3 separate regions of the Homo sapiens genome follow, and regions 1 and 3 are each linked to region 2. Evidence: promoter capture Hi-C in human tissues and cell types (Jung and others, 2019). All regions are on one chromosome and are shown on one strand. Each heading gives the region's core, a stretch centred on a gene start or on the middle of the fragment in contact. The rest is flanking DNA. Distances are from core to core; before and after follow the strand shown. Region 1 has its middle 10 kb from the start of SDCBP. Region 2 holds the start of FAM110B (family with sequence similarity 110 member B). Region 3 overlaps LOC105375855 (a long non-coding RNA gene).

Evidence for each region. Contacts are between HindIII fragments. The study calls those that stand out against the background at their distance.
Region 1: a fragment that was not itself captured here is called in contact with the fragment with the promoter of FAM110B in region 2 in 1 of the 25 tissues and cell types used here (lymphoblastoid cells).
Region 3: a fragment that was not itself captured here is called in contact with the fragment with the promoter of FAM110B in region 2 in 1 of the 25 tissues and cell types used here (mesenchymal stem cells).

What each region holds. Positions count from the first base shown.
Region 1 is chr8:58,540,957-58,545,179 of GRCh38, forward strand. No RefSeq gene overlaps it. Among named protein-coding and RNA genes, the nearest start is that of SDCBP, 10 kb to the right of the region's middle. The HindIII fragment of the contact is 6,579 bases long and covers 1-4,223 here.
Region 2 is chr8:57,992,114-57,996,418 of GRCh38, forward strand. It overlaps FAM110B (family with sequence similarity 110 member B), which reads left to right and starts at 2,410. Exons shown (of 4, transcript NM_001377989.1): 1 at 2,410-2,693. RefSeq lists silencers at 2,737-2,786, 2,807-2,856 and an enhancer at 2,861-3,361. The HindIII fragment of the contact is 16,250 bases long and covers 1-4,305 here.
Region 3 is chr8:57,474,225-57,478,944 of GRCh38, forward strand. All of the region lies in intron 1 of LOC105375855 (a long non-coding RNA gene), which reads left to right. Among named protein-coding and RNA genes, the nearest start is that of LINC00588, 200 kb to the left of the region's middle. The HindIII fragment of the contact is 6,465 bases long and covers 1-4,720 here.

The DNA.
Region 1 (4,223 bases), core at 1,609-4,108, 550 kb after region 2:
AAAAAGGAATCATGGAGAGTGGAAGCAGAGGAATCAGGAAACATTAAAAAAAATGCAATCCAAAATCTAGGGGTGGTGTATTCCCTAAAGTATTTCAAAGAACAAAACATCCAGTTTGTTCTGCTACCACATATGTTTTGGTAATGTGAATTAGCTCATACAAAACTGGTAAATGGGAGAGTGATATTTATCTAATAATGTTGAAATTGTTTTGGTTGATATGCATGTATCCCAGTATGTGATTTCCAAGAAATCAGGGGGGAAACTTTCTAAACAATTAAAAAGCAAGCCTTAGCAATATGCAAACACCTTAAGGAAAAAACTTCTACAGTGGCACCTTTCTTTATTGAAACAAAGGCTGGGTTAGTGGTTTCAGGAACTGCTATGTATTTCATGATATTAAGCTATCTGGTGAAGTGTGAAGACAGATAAAGAAGCTGCAAAAAGAAAAAAAGATGTTTGTTTGAAAACATTAGGAAGGCCCCTGAAGCAAATTTTTAACACTGATAAAACTGGCATTTTGAAAGTAAATACCCCTACATCTCAAAAGAGCAAGCCCCTGAGTTTAAAAGCTACTCAGGGTAGGCTGCTAGTGGAGATTGACTGAGCCAGTATTTTATAAATAGAGGCTTATTGTTTTTGTTGGTGTTCTTGTTATAAAATTGGGTGGTATGGTCTGTCCATAGCCCTATTTGTGCCATATGCCCAGTTATTTCCAGTGTATGCTTTTGTAGAATGCAAAGCTGGGTGTGAATGCACATGTGGTTTTACAAAGACATGGCTGTATGTAAGAAAGCAAGAAGACTGGCTTCAGAGCAAACTATAACTGATACTCTTTTTTCACATCTTAACATCAATTCTTCAGTCAGGGTTGGCTTTTTAACCTGCTTCCATCCATAATTTTATTTAACAACTAGAATCAAATCTTGAAAAATGCAATGCCTTAAGCATTTTACCTTTCATGCTTCCTTTCTCAGAAAGTCACTAGAGGACATGCTCATCCAAAATGAGGCAGTGAACAAGGGACCGCAGGAATCAGGGACTCAGCATAGGAGAGCGTGGAATAAAGACCAAGATGATGGTGAACTAAGTCCCAGGAAAATAGCTGTGTGGACAACTGAAGCACAAACTGCTCAGACTGGGCTCTGGAAAGGGAGCTTCTGGGGGCGACTAGAACTGAGGGACTATCTGATATTTAAAAAGTAATGTCTAAAGGTGTTTTTCACAGATATATTGGGAATGCCAAGAAGAATTAGCTGTGAAAATATGGAGAGCTGATGGTACTTTTATTTCCCACTAGGTAGAATGGATCATGTGTCCTAGGTTGGCTCTTTGGGTTTAAGCAAAAATGGATGTCATCCTGTTACTTTTCAAAAGTCCTGGCCAGGCACGGTGGCTCACGCCGGTAATCCCAACACTTTGGGCGGCCGAGGCGGGTGGATCACCTGAGTTTGGGAATTCAAGATCAGCCTAGCCAACGTGGTGAAACCCCGTATCTACTAAAAATACAAAAATTAGCTGGGCGTGGTATTCGGCACCTGTAATTCCATCTACTCAGGAGGCTGAGGTACGAGAATTGCTTGAACCTGGGAGGTGGAGGTTGCAGTGAGCCAAGATTGCATCACTGCACTCCAGCCTGGGGGATGGAGCAAGACTCAGTCTCAAAATAGTAATAATAATAATAACAAAAGTCCCAGTAAAAACCCGGTAGTTTTAATAGATTTACTTGCAGTAAACACATGGAACACCATCCTGCTTTTGTGCCAGTGGCCTCACTCCAGGGGGTTGTTCTATCTCCCCAAAGCATGGTCAGGAAGCCTTATTGCTGCACCTCCCTCACAGGTGCAAAACACAGTAAGAGCGCTATGATTTTGATTGTGCATGTGGCTCTTCTCAAGTTGTGTGTCCTCTATGCAAACCTTTGGTTTTACACAATGACAAAACACTTATTTCTCCTAATTCCTTATGCCCAACTTAGATCTTGATCCTGAAAAATTCTCCTGCTCATTTGATACACCTTGTATGCAGATGTTAGGTTTATTGGTGAGCAGGCTTCTCTTGTCAAGGTTGGGACTTCATAGGGGCAATCATTGATGGGGTTAATCCTCAGAGAGGAAACTAGAACTAAAATATGTGCAGGATGAGATAGGGAAATCCCATCCGTTTCTGGCCTCGTTTTATTGCCTTTAATTGAAAGCTGCCTCTTACCTCATGGTTTTGAGTTACTTCATTGTGTAATCTTTTTGAAGGCATGAATTTCAGCAAAAATTAGGAATCCCTCGTTTATGTTAGAAATTTCACTGTTGAGCACTATAAATGCAAACAATGGAACTGAGGTGACAATCTGCTGAAGGGATACCTTTGGAGTCTGGCTGAAGGTCGCATGTGGGTGGGTGAAGGAAACAGTCTCAACTTGCTTTTCGGCCCGACAGTGGGAATATTCTTTTGACATTGATAATTTCAGACATCTTAAGTTCTGAATTGTTAAAATGGTTTTTAAAAATGTTGCTCTTAGAAACAAGAAAATACGGTAATTCTAGAAGCAACCCTTTTCAGTTCCTCAGGCACTGTGCCAGGCATCAAAGACCATTTAAAGTATAGCCCCAGCCCTCAAGAAGTTCTGGTCAGAGGAAAGAATGATTGATACCAAAGAAACCACAGGGAAGAAAAGTGAAAAAAAGATCACTTCTGATTCCATGTAAAATTATACAGTTACGAACTATATTAATAGCTGAAGGATAAGGCTGATATCCAAAAGTCAAATAAATTTAATTCCTAATTATCCACATACAAGAAACTAAATGAATGAAAGAAGCAATAGTAATTTTCCATATAAATATAGTTGAGAAATTATGCATTACCCTGGCCGCACAAATACAACTGCTATAGTTGACTCTGAACATCTGGAACACTTCTGGATGTGTAACTTGGAACCGAGGATATGGCATTCTTTTTAAGGGTGTGTGTATTCACAACTTAGGGAAGAATCCCAAATTGAATTCCATAGTTAAAAGCAAAAACAAGTTTTAACACACTGAAAGAGTACACTCCTGTCTGGTTGAGAGAGATCAGCCAATAAATGATGGATCCCCGGGCAGCTCAAATGCCAGTGTGGCACGTTTCCTATGGAATGTGGAGGCATTCAGAGACTTAAATGATTTTACTCTCTCAACAGAATCCAGATGCTCTTAAATATTACAGATATTATTATAAATTAAACAATATAAGTAGCCAGAAAATATTGTAGTTAGGGTTTCTATAAAAATTGTTTTGAACACTGATGTAGAAAGAGCTGTATCCTTTTTCCCAACATGGCTATTTCAAACTTGTGATAGTATATTCTTGTATATTATTGATCACCTCTTTATATTTTCTGTTATAAACATCCTATAAAGTATGCTAATATATTTGTTAATTTCTCTCCACATAAATATTCATAATGTCCTGTCCAAGAAAGTAGAAAATGGGACCTTGAAATAAAACAAATGACCCAGTCAACAACTAAATCTCCTTTAAAAAAAAAAGTCACAAGTCAATTTACCTTTGCTTTAATGGTTTTTGGTAGCCCCATAAAATGGTCTTATTTTGTGAAGGGGAGACATTTCTAAATATGTAAAATTTGTTTTAATTCTTTAGGAAAGCAGAATTCAACACATCTTTGAAAGAAAATCCAAATGCTGTATTATAAGTTAATTTAACTTATATTTACAAGTTAGGTTTAACTTATTGGTATGTCAACCAACAATATTTTTACCACCTGTAAAAGGTATGGGCCATGAATGTGATAGAATCTTTACTACAAATAATTTCTTCACTATGGCAAAATATTCGATGATGGAAGAACTTTAAGAAAAGCTTTACAGGCCAGGTGCAGGGGCTCACGTCTGTATTCCCAACATTTTGAGAGGCCGAGGTGGGCGGATCACGAGGTCAAGAGTTCGAGACCAGCCTGACCAACATGGTGAAACCCTGTCTCTACTAAAAATACAAAAATTAGCTGGGCATGGTGGTGTGCACCTGTAATCTCAGCTACTCAGGAGGCTGAGGCAGGAGAATTGCTTGAACCCAGGAGGCGGAGGTTGCAGTGAGCCGCGATAGCACCACTGCATTCTAGCCTGGGCAACAGAGCAAGACTCAGTCTCAAAAAGAAAGAAAAAAAAAAGCTTTGTAGAATTATAACTACCTGGAGAAATGTTCAATTTAGCAATAGAGGCCGGGCACGG
Region 2 (4,305 bases), core at 1,160-3,659:
ACACAATAAAATTCTAGTACAAACAACTAATTTCAACATTCTCTGAAAATCTGTAGCAGTCCTTAACATTTTCAGTCCCCAAAACAAGAAAACTATGTCCTAAATCAGCAAACATTAGGGATTATGAGAGCAGTTTTATTGGCATAATTGATAAGACAATATTTACTGAAATATTCCAGCATAGATGTTTTACTGTGTTCTCTCTGTCTCTTTAACCACATCTTTTATTGGTTTTTGGTTTTGGTGATGACAATTTGGGGCTATTAAATCTACACTGGGCAATAGTAAAACCCTAAATGAGAACCTTAATAATAAGAGTTAGGGGTCCTACTAAGTGAACTCCTTGGCATATACTTTATTATCAAGAAGTAGTTTAGGCAATAGAAAAGCTAAAACTTGGTCGGCGCAGTGGCTCACGTCTGTAATCCCAGAACTTTGGGCGCCTGAGGCAGGTGGATCACCTGAGGTCACGAGTTCCAGGCTAGCCTGGCCAACATGGCAAAATCCCGTCTCTACTAAAAATACAAAAATTAGCTGGGCGTGGTGGCCCGTGCCTATAATCTTAGCTACTCGGGAGGCTGAGGCAGGAGAATTGCTGAACCCAGGAGGTGGAGGTTGCAGTGAGTGGAGATCATGCCACTGCACTCCAGCCTGGGTGACAGAGTGAGACTCTGTCATCAAAAAAAAAAAAAAAAAAAAAAAGAAAGAAAGCTAAAACTCATTGGTTACATTCCTGATTTTCAAAGCATCGATCATAGGGGAATCTTTTATGATTTTATAAGTGAGTCTTCTGGAAAGAAACTTAACTCAAAATGGCATAAGCAAGAAAGACAATTTATTGGTGCATTACTTCAGAAGTTCAGGATTTGACTGGTTTTAGAGGTGACTGTCTTCGGATGGCCATTGATGTCATCAGGGCACTTTTCTGTCTCCATTGCTCAGTTTGGCTTTTTTTCTGGTTTTGTTTTATTCTCCAGTAAGTTGACTCCAGCTGCTGCACGCATATATGATATGGTCCCAGGAGCTGCCCTGTCAGTCAGGGAAAGGACCCTCCTCCTTTGTTCTCAGACGATATTCTAATTGGCTGGCCTGGGTCATATCCCTCACAATGTCAGGAAGCTCTGTGGGCTAGTCACACCCAATGGGAGGGGGAAATTCCTAAAAGGAAGGGATTGGGGCAAAGAAGTGGGGAAAAAAAGTATACTTGAGAGGGAGAGAAGTTGGTTCCATTTGCTATGGGAATGATGAAAAATAGTTTATTTCTATTGTTATATGACTTTTGGAGTTAATGGAGACCACAACGTAATCTGTGATAACAAGGAATGTATTAGTATGCCAAAGGAAAGTTCCATTTAAATCCCAGTATCATGTCACTTTCTTAAAATGGTAATCTTTAAATAGAAAAAAAATATATTATTATAAAGTCTGAGTTTTATTTAGTTGGCAACTTCTTAACTATTATGAAACAATAGATTCATTGAATTGAAGCACAATTCAAATATAAACGATCTTTCTGAGAAAATGAGATGAGTGAAATCGTATTGTTAATGTACCAGAGATTAAAAAGAAATCCTTGCTCAATATTTTCTAGAAGAAACAATTATTTTGTGAGTCCATATCCCATTCAAATTCATTTTGATAAAGATGGATTTTATCTTTTAGACTTCCCAATAGCAAAATTAAATTACAATGTGTTTAGTCTTCCTAAAACAAATCCTCTCCTGAAACAACCAAGTTATTAAGCAAATCTAAGCAGAAAGTATTCTCAAATACTATATTAGGCGATTAATAATGACGCACCCCAAAGCATTTCATTTTAAAACATCAGCTGGCCCACATTTCAGAGGTAGTACATCATGCTTGATATTTTTCGTTATTTACTATTTTCTCCAAACATTTTTTTGAAGTCTTAAAAATGCCTTCAGAAATTAAGCTAGGACGCTCCATCTGAGTATATGAAAGTTAGTAAACAGAAAATGTCAAGCACCAAGACGTTTGGATGGCTGGACTACCAGGTGGGGTTATCTCATTCAGGGCACAGGCTCTACGTCTCCAGTGCTGAGCGATCTGCACTGGGGTGGCAGTCCGAGATCCAGCGGTATCACCGGGTGGGAGCAGGGTGGGGGTGCTTGCGTGCGGACATAGGTGGGAGTGGGGGATAGGGAGGAAATGGAGGCGCCGACCGAGTGGAATGGGGGGTGGGTCAGGGATGGGGTGGGATGGGCATCAGTAGCGGGGTGGAGATGTTGAGAGAGAGGCAGGGCTTGGAGTGGAGGTGCGAGAAGGGTGGGGACCCGGAAGGTGGGGTGGGGGCGGGATGGAGGCGGGGCGGGGTGTACGAGGGGCGTGTACACTGGCTCAGGGACACGCGCTCTCGGCCACAGCAACTGGCTCCAAGTTCCCTCCCTCACTCTCCGGCGAAGCCTGCCTGAGCCCTCCCACTCGGTGCAGACCGAACCATCGCGGCCGCCGCCAGCCGGGCCCTTCGCGGCCGCGCGTCCTGGGCCCGTTCCGCCAGCCCCGTCTGCTCTCTACCCGCGGCCCCGCGGCGGCGACCGTGAACACTCGGCGGCCCCTACAGCCCGCTCTCGGCCCTTCGTCCCTCGCGGGCCCCGACTCTCCCTCCTTGCAGTCCCCCGGAGCCTGGCTCCCGGCTCGGGCCGCACCGCCAGGGACTGGGGTGAGCGGCCCAGGTAAGACTGGGCCGTGGGGGCCGGGAGAGAGACTGCTGGGCGGGGGTTGGGATTCGGGTTCAGTGGTCGCGCCGCGCCCCGACTGCGGACAATGCGGGAGCTGCGCGCGGCCAGGCGGCGCGGAGCTAAGCCGGCTCTGCGCCTGCAGCTTCCCCGCCCGGCCCGGGTCTCCGTTGAGCCCGGCCTCACTGGCCCAGGCGGACCCCGTCCGGCTTTCTGGGCTGCCGGGGGAGGCGCAGCGCCGCTGCCTGCCCCGCGCCCCCTCTGCGCTCGGCTTGGCTGCACGTCCCGGGCTCGGCTAGGAGGCTGGGCACGGGGCCGGGGCTGGAGCCGGGGTTGGAGCCAGGGCGGGGGGAAGCTGGCCGCGCTGCGGAGCGGAGGTGGGCTCCGAAAGCGCGCCGCCGGTTGCTGCTGGAGGAGTGGGACTACGAAGGATGGGGACTCCGCTCGGCCACCGCTCCTGAATGGTCTCTAATCTCGGTGTTAAATACTTTATGAGAGTATCAATACCACCTAATCCTTTGCTGAGAATTACTGCTAGAAATGTAGATTCTGAGGTTCCGAAAGTTTGTTTTTGGTTACCCCCTCCAGCTCCTCCCGTGGCCTCAATTGTCTCTATTTTCTTTGAAAGCATACAGATTTGAAATAGAATTAAATTCTCCTTGGCTCACTCGTGTCTCCATCACCCAGCGGAGCTCATAACTTGGCAACAAAGCCCATACAGGCTGTGGGAAGCCGCGATGCCTGCTGCCCAGCCTGGTGCCCTCCTATTGTTTAGAGCTGGAGCTGTACAGTGTAAATGGCAGTGACAGGTCTCCCTTAAGCTGGCTCGTGGGGAAGGAAGGGAGATAACTTTGCAGTGTGCTTAAATTACTCTGGAAAGTGGAAAGAAAACACCTGGTGCTCAGCTTTTTAACCCTTTCAAGTTGTTATTCAGATTTATTGACACACACACACAGAAAAGTGCAGGCTTTCTTTCCTGCCTAAAAAATAGGCAACCTCTGTGTTCTTCCTCACAGCCAACTTATGTCCTCTGCAAAATCTGGCACACATCTGTGACAACATTGCACTTCTGGCGTAACTGGTCTATTTCTCAAAAGGGAATATGATAGTAGAATAAGCATTTTTGCAGTATGGATAGTAGGACTTCCATTTTCTTCGTTTCCTTTGTTGGTGAAGAAGGTATTTATTATTTTCCCCCCAGTTTACACGTAGTGATTTCTGGGAAGATACTTGTATTAATTTCTTGTACTCATTTTTGTGACATCACAACCCCTGGTCATTCAGGTAAGCTATTTATTAAGCATAGTTATTCTAGAATAAAGGTGAGTTAATGGTAAACTAGAATCCTTCACTGATAACATCCCATTGGTTTACCCTACGGTATTTAATCTGTAGTATTACTATAGATTGTACATGTAAAGTCACTAATTGAACAGAGAGGTGGTTGGTGCCTTGTTAGCCTGACATAAAGTGCTTAGAACAGTGCCTTGCATATAGTTCTAGGTGTCAGCTAATATTACTTTTAATTTTTCTTATCAAGCTATGTGTTATTTTCTGTTTGGAAAATGGTCGTTTTGATTTTTAAAATTCTGATCTGTTAGGTCATGAT
Region 3 (4,720 bases), core at 470-2,969, 520 kb before region 2:
CTAGGCTGATAATTTTTCACAGCTTTACATTTTTCTTCCCTTTTAGTTATAAATTCTGTCTCTAAATTATTTCTTTCTTCTTGCATTTTACCACAAACCATCAAAAGAAGCCACATCACAGCCTGAATGCTTTGCTGCTTAGACATTTCTTCTGCCAAAACTAGTTCATCCTCGTAAGATTTTCCTTCCATAAATTTTCTAGGACACAACATAATTTAGCCAAGTTCTTTGCCACTTTGTAAAAAGGTTGGCCTTTCCTCTAGTTTCCCATACCTTGTTCCACATTTCCATGTGGAACAAGGCCTCATCAGAATGGCCTTTAATGTTTACACATGTAACAATGTTCTGTTCATGGCATTACAAGCTATTTCCATCATTCACTTCAAAACTGTTTGAGCTTCTACCCATTACCCAGTTTCAGAACCACTTCCGCATCTTTAAGTATCTGTTATAGAAATACCCCTTTTCTCTGGTACCAATTTCTGCCTTAGTTTGTTTGCACTGCTTTAACAGAATACCACCGAATGGGTAACTTATAAAGAACAGAAATGTGTTTCTCACGATTCTAGAGGTTGGGAAGTCCAAGATAAAGGGGCCATCATTTGGTCTGGTAAGTACCTTCTTACTGTGTCGTCACATGGAATAAGGTGAAAAGTCAGGCTTGTAAGCTAGCTTAAAGCTGTGTGAAGGCTCTTTTATAAGGACCTTAATCCCATTAACAAAAGAAAAGCCTTCATGGCCTAATCACCTCTTAAAGGCTCCTCCACCTTTAACATCATTACATTGGCCTCACCTGCATTTTAGAGGCAATTAGGTTTCAACCTGAATTTTGTAAGGACAAAAACACTCAAACCATTGAACTATTGTGTGTGTGTGTGTGTGTGTGTATATATATATATATATATATATATATATATATACACACACATACATATTAGAATTTATTTACCTATTCATCAGTTAATGGACATTTGTATTGCTTCTAATTTAGGACTATGATAAATGGTGCTTCTATGAACATGCATGTACATGTATTTGTTTGAGTGCCTGTTTTCATTTCTTTTAGGTATACACCTAGCAGTGGAAACCTAGGTCATATGGTAATTTAATGTGTAACCTTTTGAGGAATGGCCAAAATATTTTCCATGGCAATTGAACCATTTTACATTTCCACCAGTGATGTACAAGTATTCCAGTTTTTCTACATTTTCAATATTTGTTATTTTTCACTTTTTTTGGTAAAAATAAGGCCATTCTAGTGGATGTGAAGTGATATTTCATTGTCATTTTGATTTATATTTTCCTAAAGTCTAATGATGCTAAGCATTTTTTCATGTACTTGTTGGCCTTTTATATATCTTCTTTGAAGAAATGTCTATTTGAGTCTTTGTTCATTTTTAAATTGAGCTTGATAGACTTTGTTATTGAATTGAAAAGTTCCTTTCTGGATATTAGGCTCTTATTAGATATGATTTACATTTTTTTCCATTCTGTATGTTATCTTTTTACCTTCTTAATAATGTCCTTTGATGCAAGAAAGTATTAATTTTGATGAAGCCCAATTTATTTACTTATTATTTTCTTGCTTGTGCTTTTTATGCCATTTGTAAGAATTTGTGGTCAAAATAAGATCATAGAGATGTGCTCTGTATTCTTCTACAAGATTTATAGTTTTAGCTCTCATATTTATGTCACTGATCCATTTCTGGTCAATTTTTTTATATGATGTATGTGAGTCCAACTTCATTATTTCACATGAGAATGACCGTTTGTTTTAGTGTCATGTGTTGAAGATATTATTCTTTCCCCTATTGAAGAGTCTTTTCACCCTTGTCAAAATTAAATTGACCATAGATGTATGAATCTCTTTATGGCTTCTCAATTCCATTTCATTCATTTGTATGACTATTCTCATGTTGGTACCACATTCTCTTGATTGCTGTAACTTTATAGTAAGTATTGAAAATGAGAAGTGTGAGACTTCCAAATTGGCTGTTCTTTTTCAATATCATTTTTATTATTCTGGGCCCCTTACATTCCATATGAATTTGAGGATCACCTTTTTTCATATCTGCAAAAAGACCATTAAAATATAATATGAAATGTATTACATCGTTTTAAAATTGTGGATATTATTGCCATCTTAACAATATTAAATTTTCTAGTTCATAAATATATGTGTCTTTCCATTTATTTAGGTTTTATTTAATTTCTTTTAGCAATGTTTCATAATTTTCAATGTACAAATCTTTAATCTTTTTAGTTAAACACACACCTAAGTATTTTATTCCTTCGAATGCTGTTGTAAATAAAATTATTTTCTTAATTTCTCCTTTATCATGTTTATTGCTGTTGTTTAAAAATACAACAGATCTTTGTGTGTTGAGCTTATATTCTGCTATTTTACTGAATTTGTTTATTCATTTGAATCTTTTGTTTGGTGAATTTTTGGGGATTTTCTATATTGAGAGTCATGTCATGTGAATAGAGATAGTTTCATTTCTTCTTTTACAATTTGAATGACTTTTATTTATTTTTCTTGTCTAGTTGCTTTGGGTAGAACTTTCAGTAAGATGTTGAATATTGGTACTTAAACTAGGCATCCTTGTCTTGCTCCTGATTTTAAGGAGAAAGCTTTCAATTTTTTTTACCATTGAAATTGATGTTAGCTGTGGGTTTTTCATAAATGTCTTTTTATCATGAAAGAATGTTAGATTTTCTCAAATGCTTTTTCTGTATCAATCAAGATAGTCATGTGGCTTTTCCCCTTATTCTATTAATGTGATATATTACATTAATTGATATTCTTACCTTGCATTTCTAGGTAAACCTCACTTGGTCATAGTGTTTAATGTATTGTTAGATTCGGTCTCATAATTTATTGTGGATTTTTATGTCAAGATTCATAAGGAAGATTAGTCTGTAGTTTTGTGGCTTCTTGTGATTTGTTTTGTATTTAGTATCAGGCTAATGTTGACCTCATAAAATTAGTTAGAAATTTTTCCCTTTTCTACATTTTGGAAAAGTTTGAGAAGGGTTGGTATCAATTCTTCTTTAAATGTTTGGTGAATTTTACCAGTGAGTGTATCTGGTTCTGTACTAAAATTTGTTTAAGTACAAATTTAATTTTGTCAGAAAGTTGTTTAAAATACTCTTAATATATTCTTGATATCTAAAAAAGTAATCCTTCATATTTTTCTGCATTAAACTTTGAGGGCTAGCTAATCATTTTAAACCATCAGCTCAAATCTTTTTTTTTTTTTCACATTTCATCTTTCCTTCTAAGGGAGGGAGGGGGTCAAGGTTCAGATTCTTTATTCACATTTGTAATTTATTTATTCCTTCAGGATAAGCAGTCATCTTTATTAATTGTGTACTTGGTTTAATTGGACTTAACTTTATAATTCCTTGGGCTTTTGCTACTCAGTATTATTAAACTTCACCATGTATATGCATCATACAGAACTACTAACCATAGTGCACAGTTCTCTGACATTGCTAGCTCTTTTCAATTTGAATGGAAAGAGAATTGTACAAATATAACTCATTTTATTGTGATTTGCTTTATTGCACTTATCAGGTACTGTGTTTTTTACAAATTGAAGAATTGTGGCAACTCATTGAGCAAGTCTATCAACACTAATTTTTCAACAGCTTGTGCTGACTTTGTGTCTTTGTGCCTATTTTGGTAATTATTGCAATATTTAAAACTTTTTCATTGTTATTACATCTGTTATGGTGATATATGACCAGTGATCTTTGATGTTACCATTGCAGTTGTATACCTATGTATACAATGTAACCTGTATACATGTAGATGTACATGTACATGTAAGACTGTGAACTTAACAAATGTCGTGTGTGTTAGTGCTCTAATGACCAGCCATTCCTTCATATCTCTATTTCTCACTCTTTCCTGGCCCCCCTATTCTCTGAAACACAACACCATTGAAATTAGGTCAATTAGTAACTCTACAGTGACCTGTAAGTGTTCAAGTGAAGGGAAAAGTTGCATGTCTCTCACTTTAAATCAAAAGCTAGAAATGATTAGGCTTAGTAAGGAAGGCATGACTAAAACTGAGATAGGCCACAAGCAAGGCCACTTGTGTCAAACAGTTAGCTAAGTTGTGATTGCAAACGGTGAGTTCTTAAAGGAAATGAAATGTGCTACTCCAGTGAGCACACAAATGATAAGAAAGTGAAATAGCTTTATAGCTGACATGGAGAAAGTTTTACTGCTCTGGAGAGATCAAACTAGCCACAGCATTCCTTTAAGCCAAATTTTAATCCAGAGAAAGACCCTAATTCTCTTAAATTATATGAAGACTGAGAGAGGTTAGGAAGCTGCAGAAAAAGAGTTTGAAGTTAGCGAAGATTGCTTCATGCGATTTAAGAAAAAAAAAGCCATCTCCAAACATAAAAGACCTAGGTAGGGCAGCAAGTGCTGATGTAGAAACTGTAGCAAGCTATCCAGAATATTTAAATAAGATCACTATTGACGGTGGCTACAGTAAACAACAAGTCTTCAATGCAGACAAAACAGCTTTTTAAAACTTTTATTTTAGGTTCAGGGATACATATGCAGATTTGTTATATAGGTAAACTCACGTCACAGGGGGTTGTTGTATAAATCATTTCATCACCCAGGTACTAAGCCTAATACTCAATAGTTATTTTATCTGATCTTCTGCTTCCCCCACCCTCCATCCTCAAGTAGGCC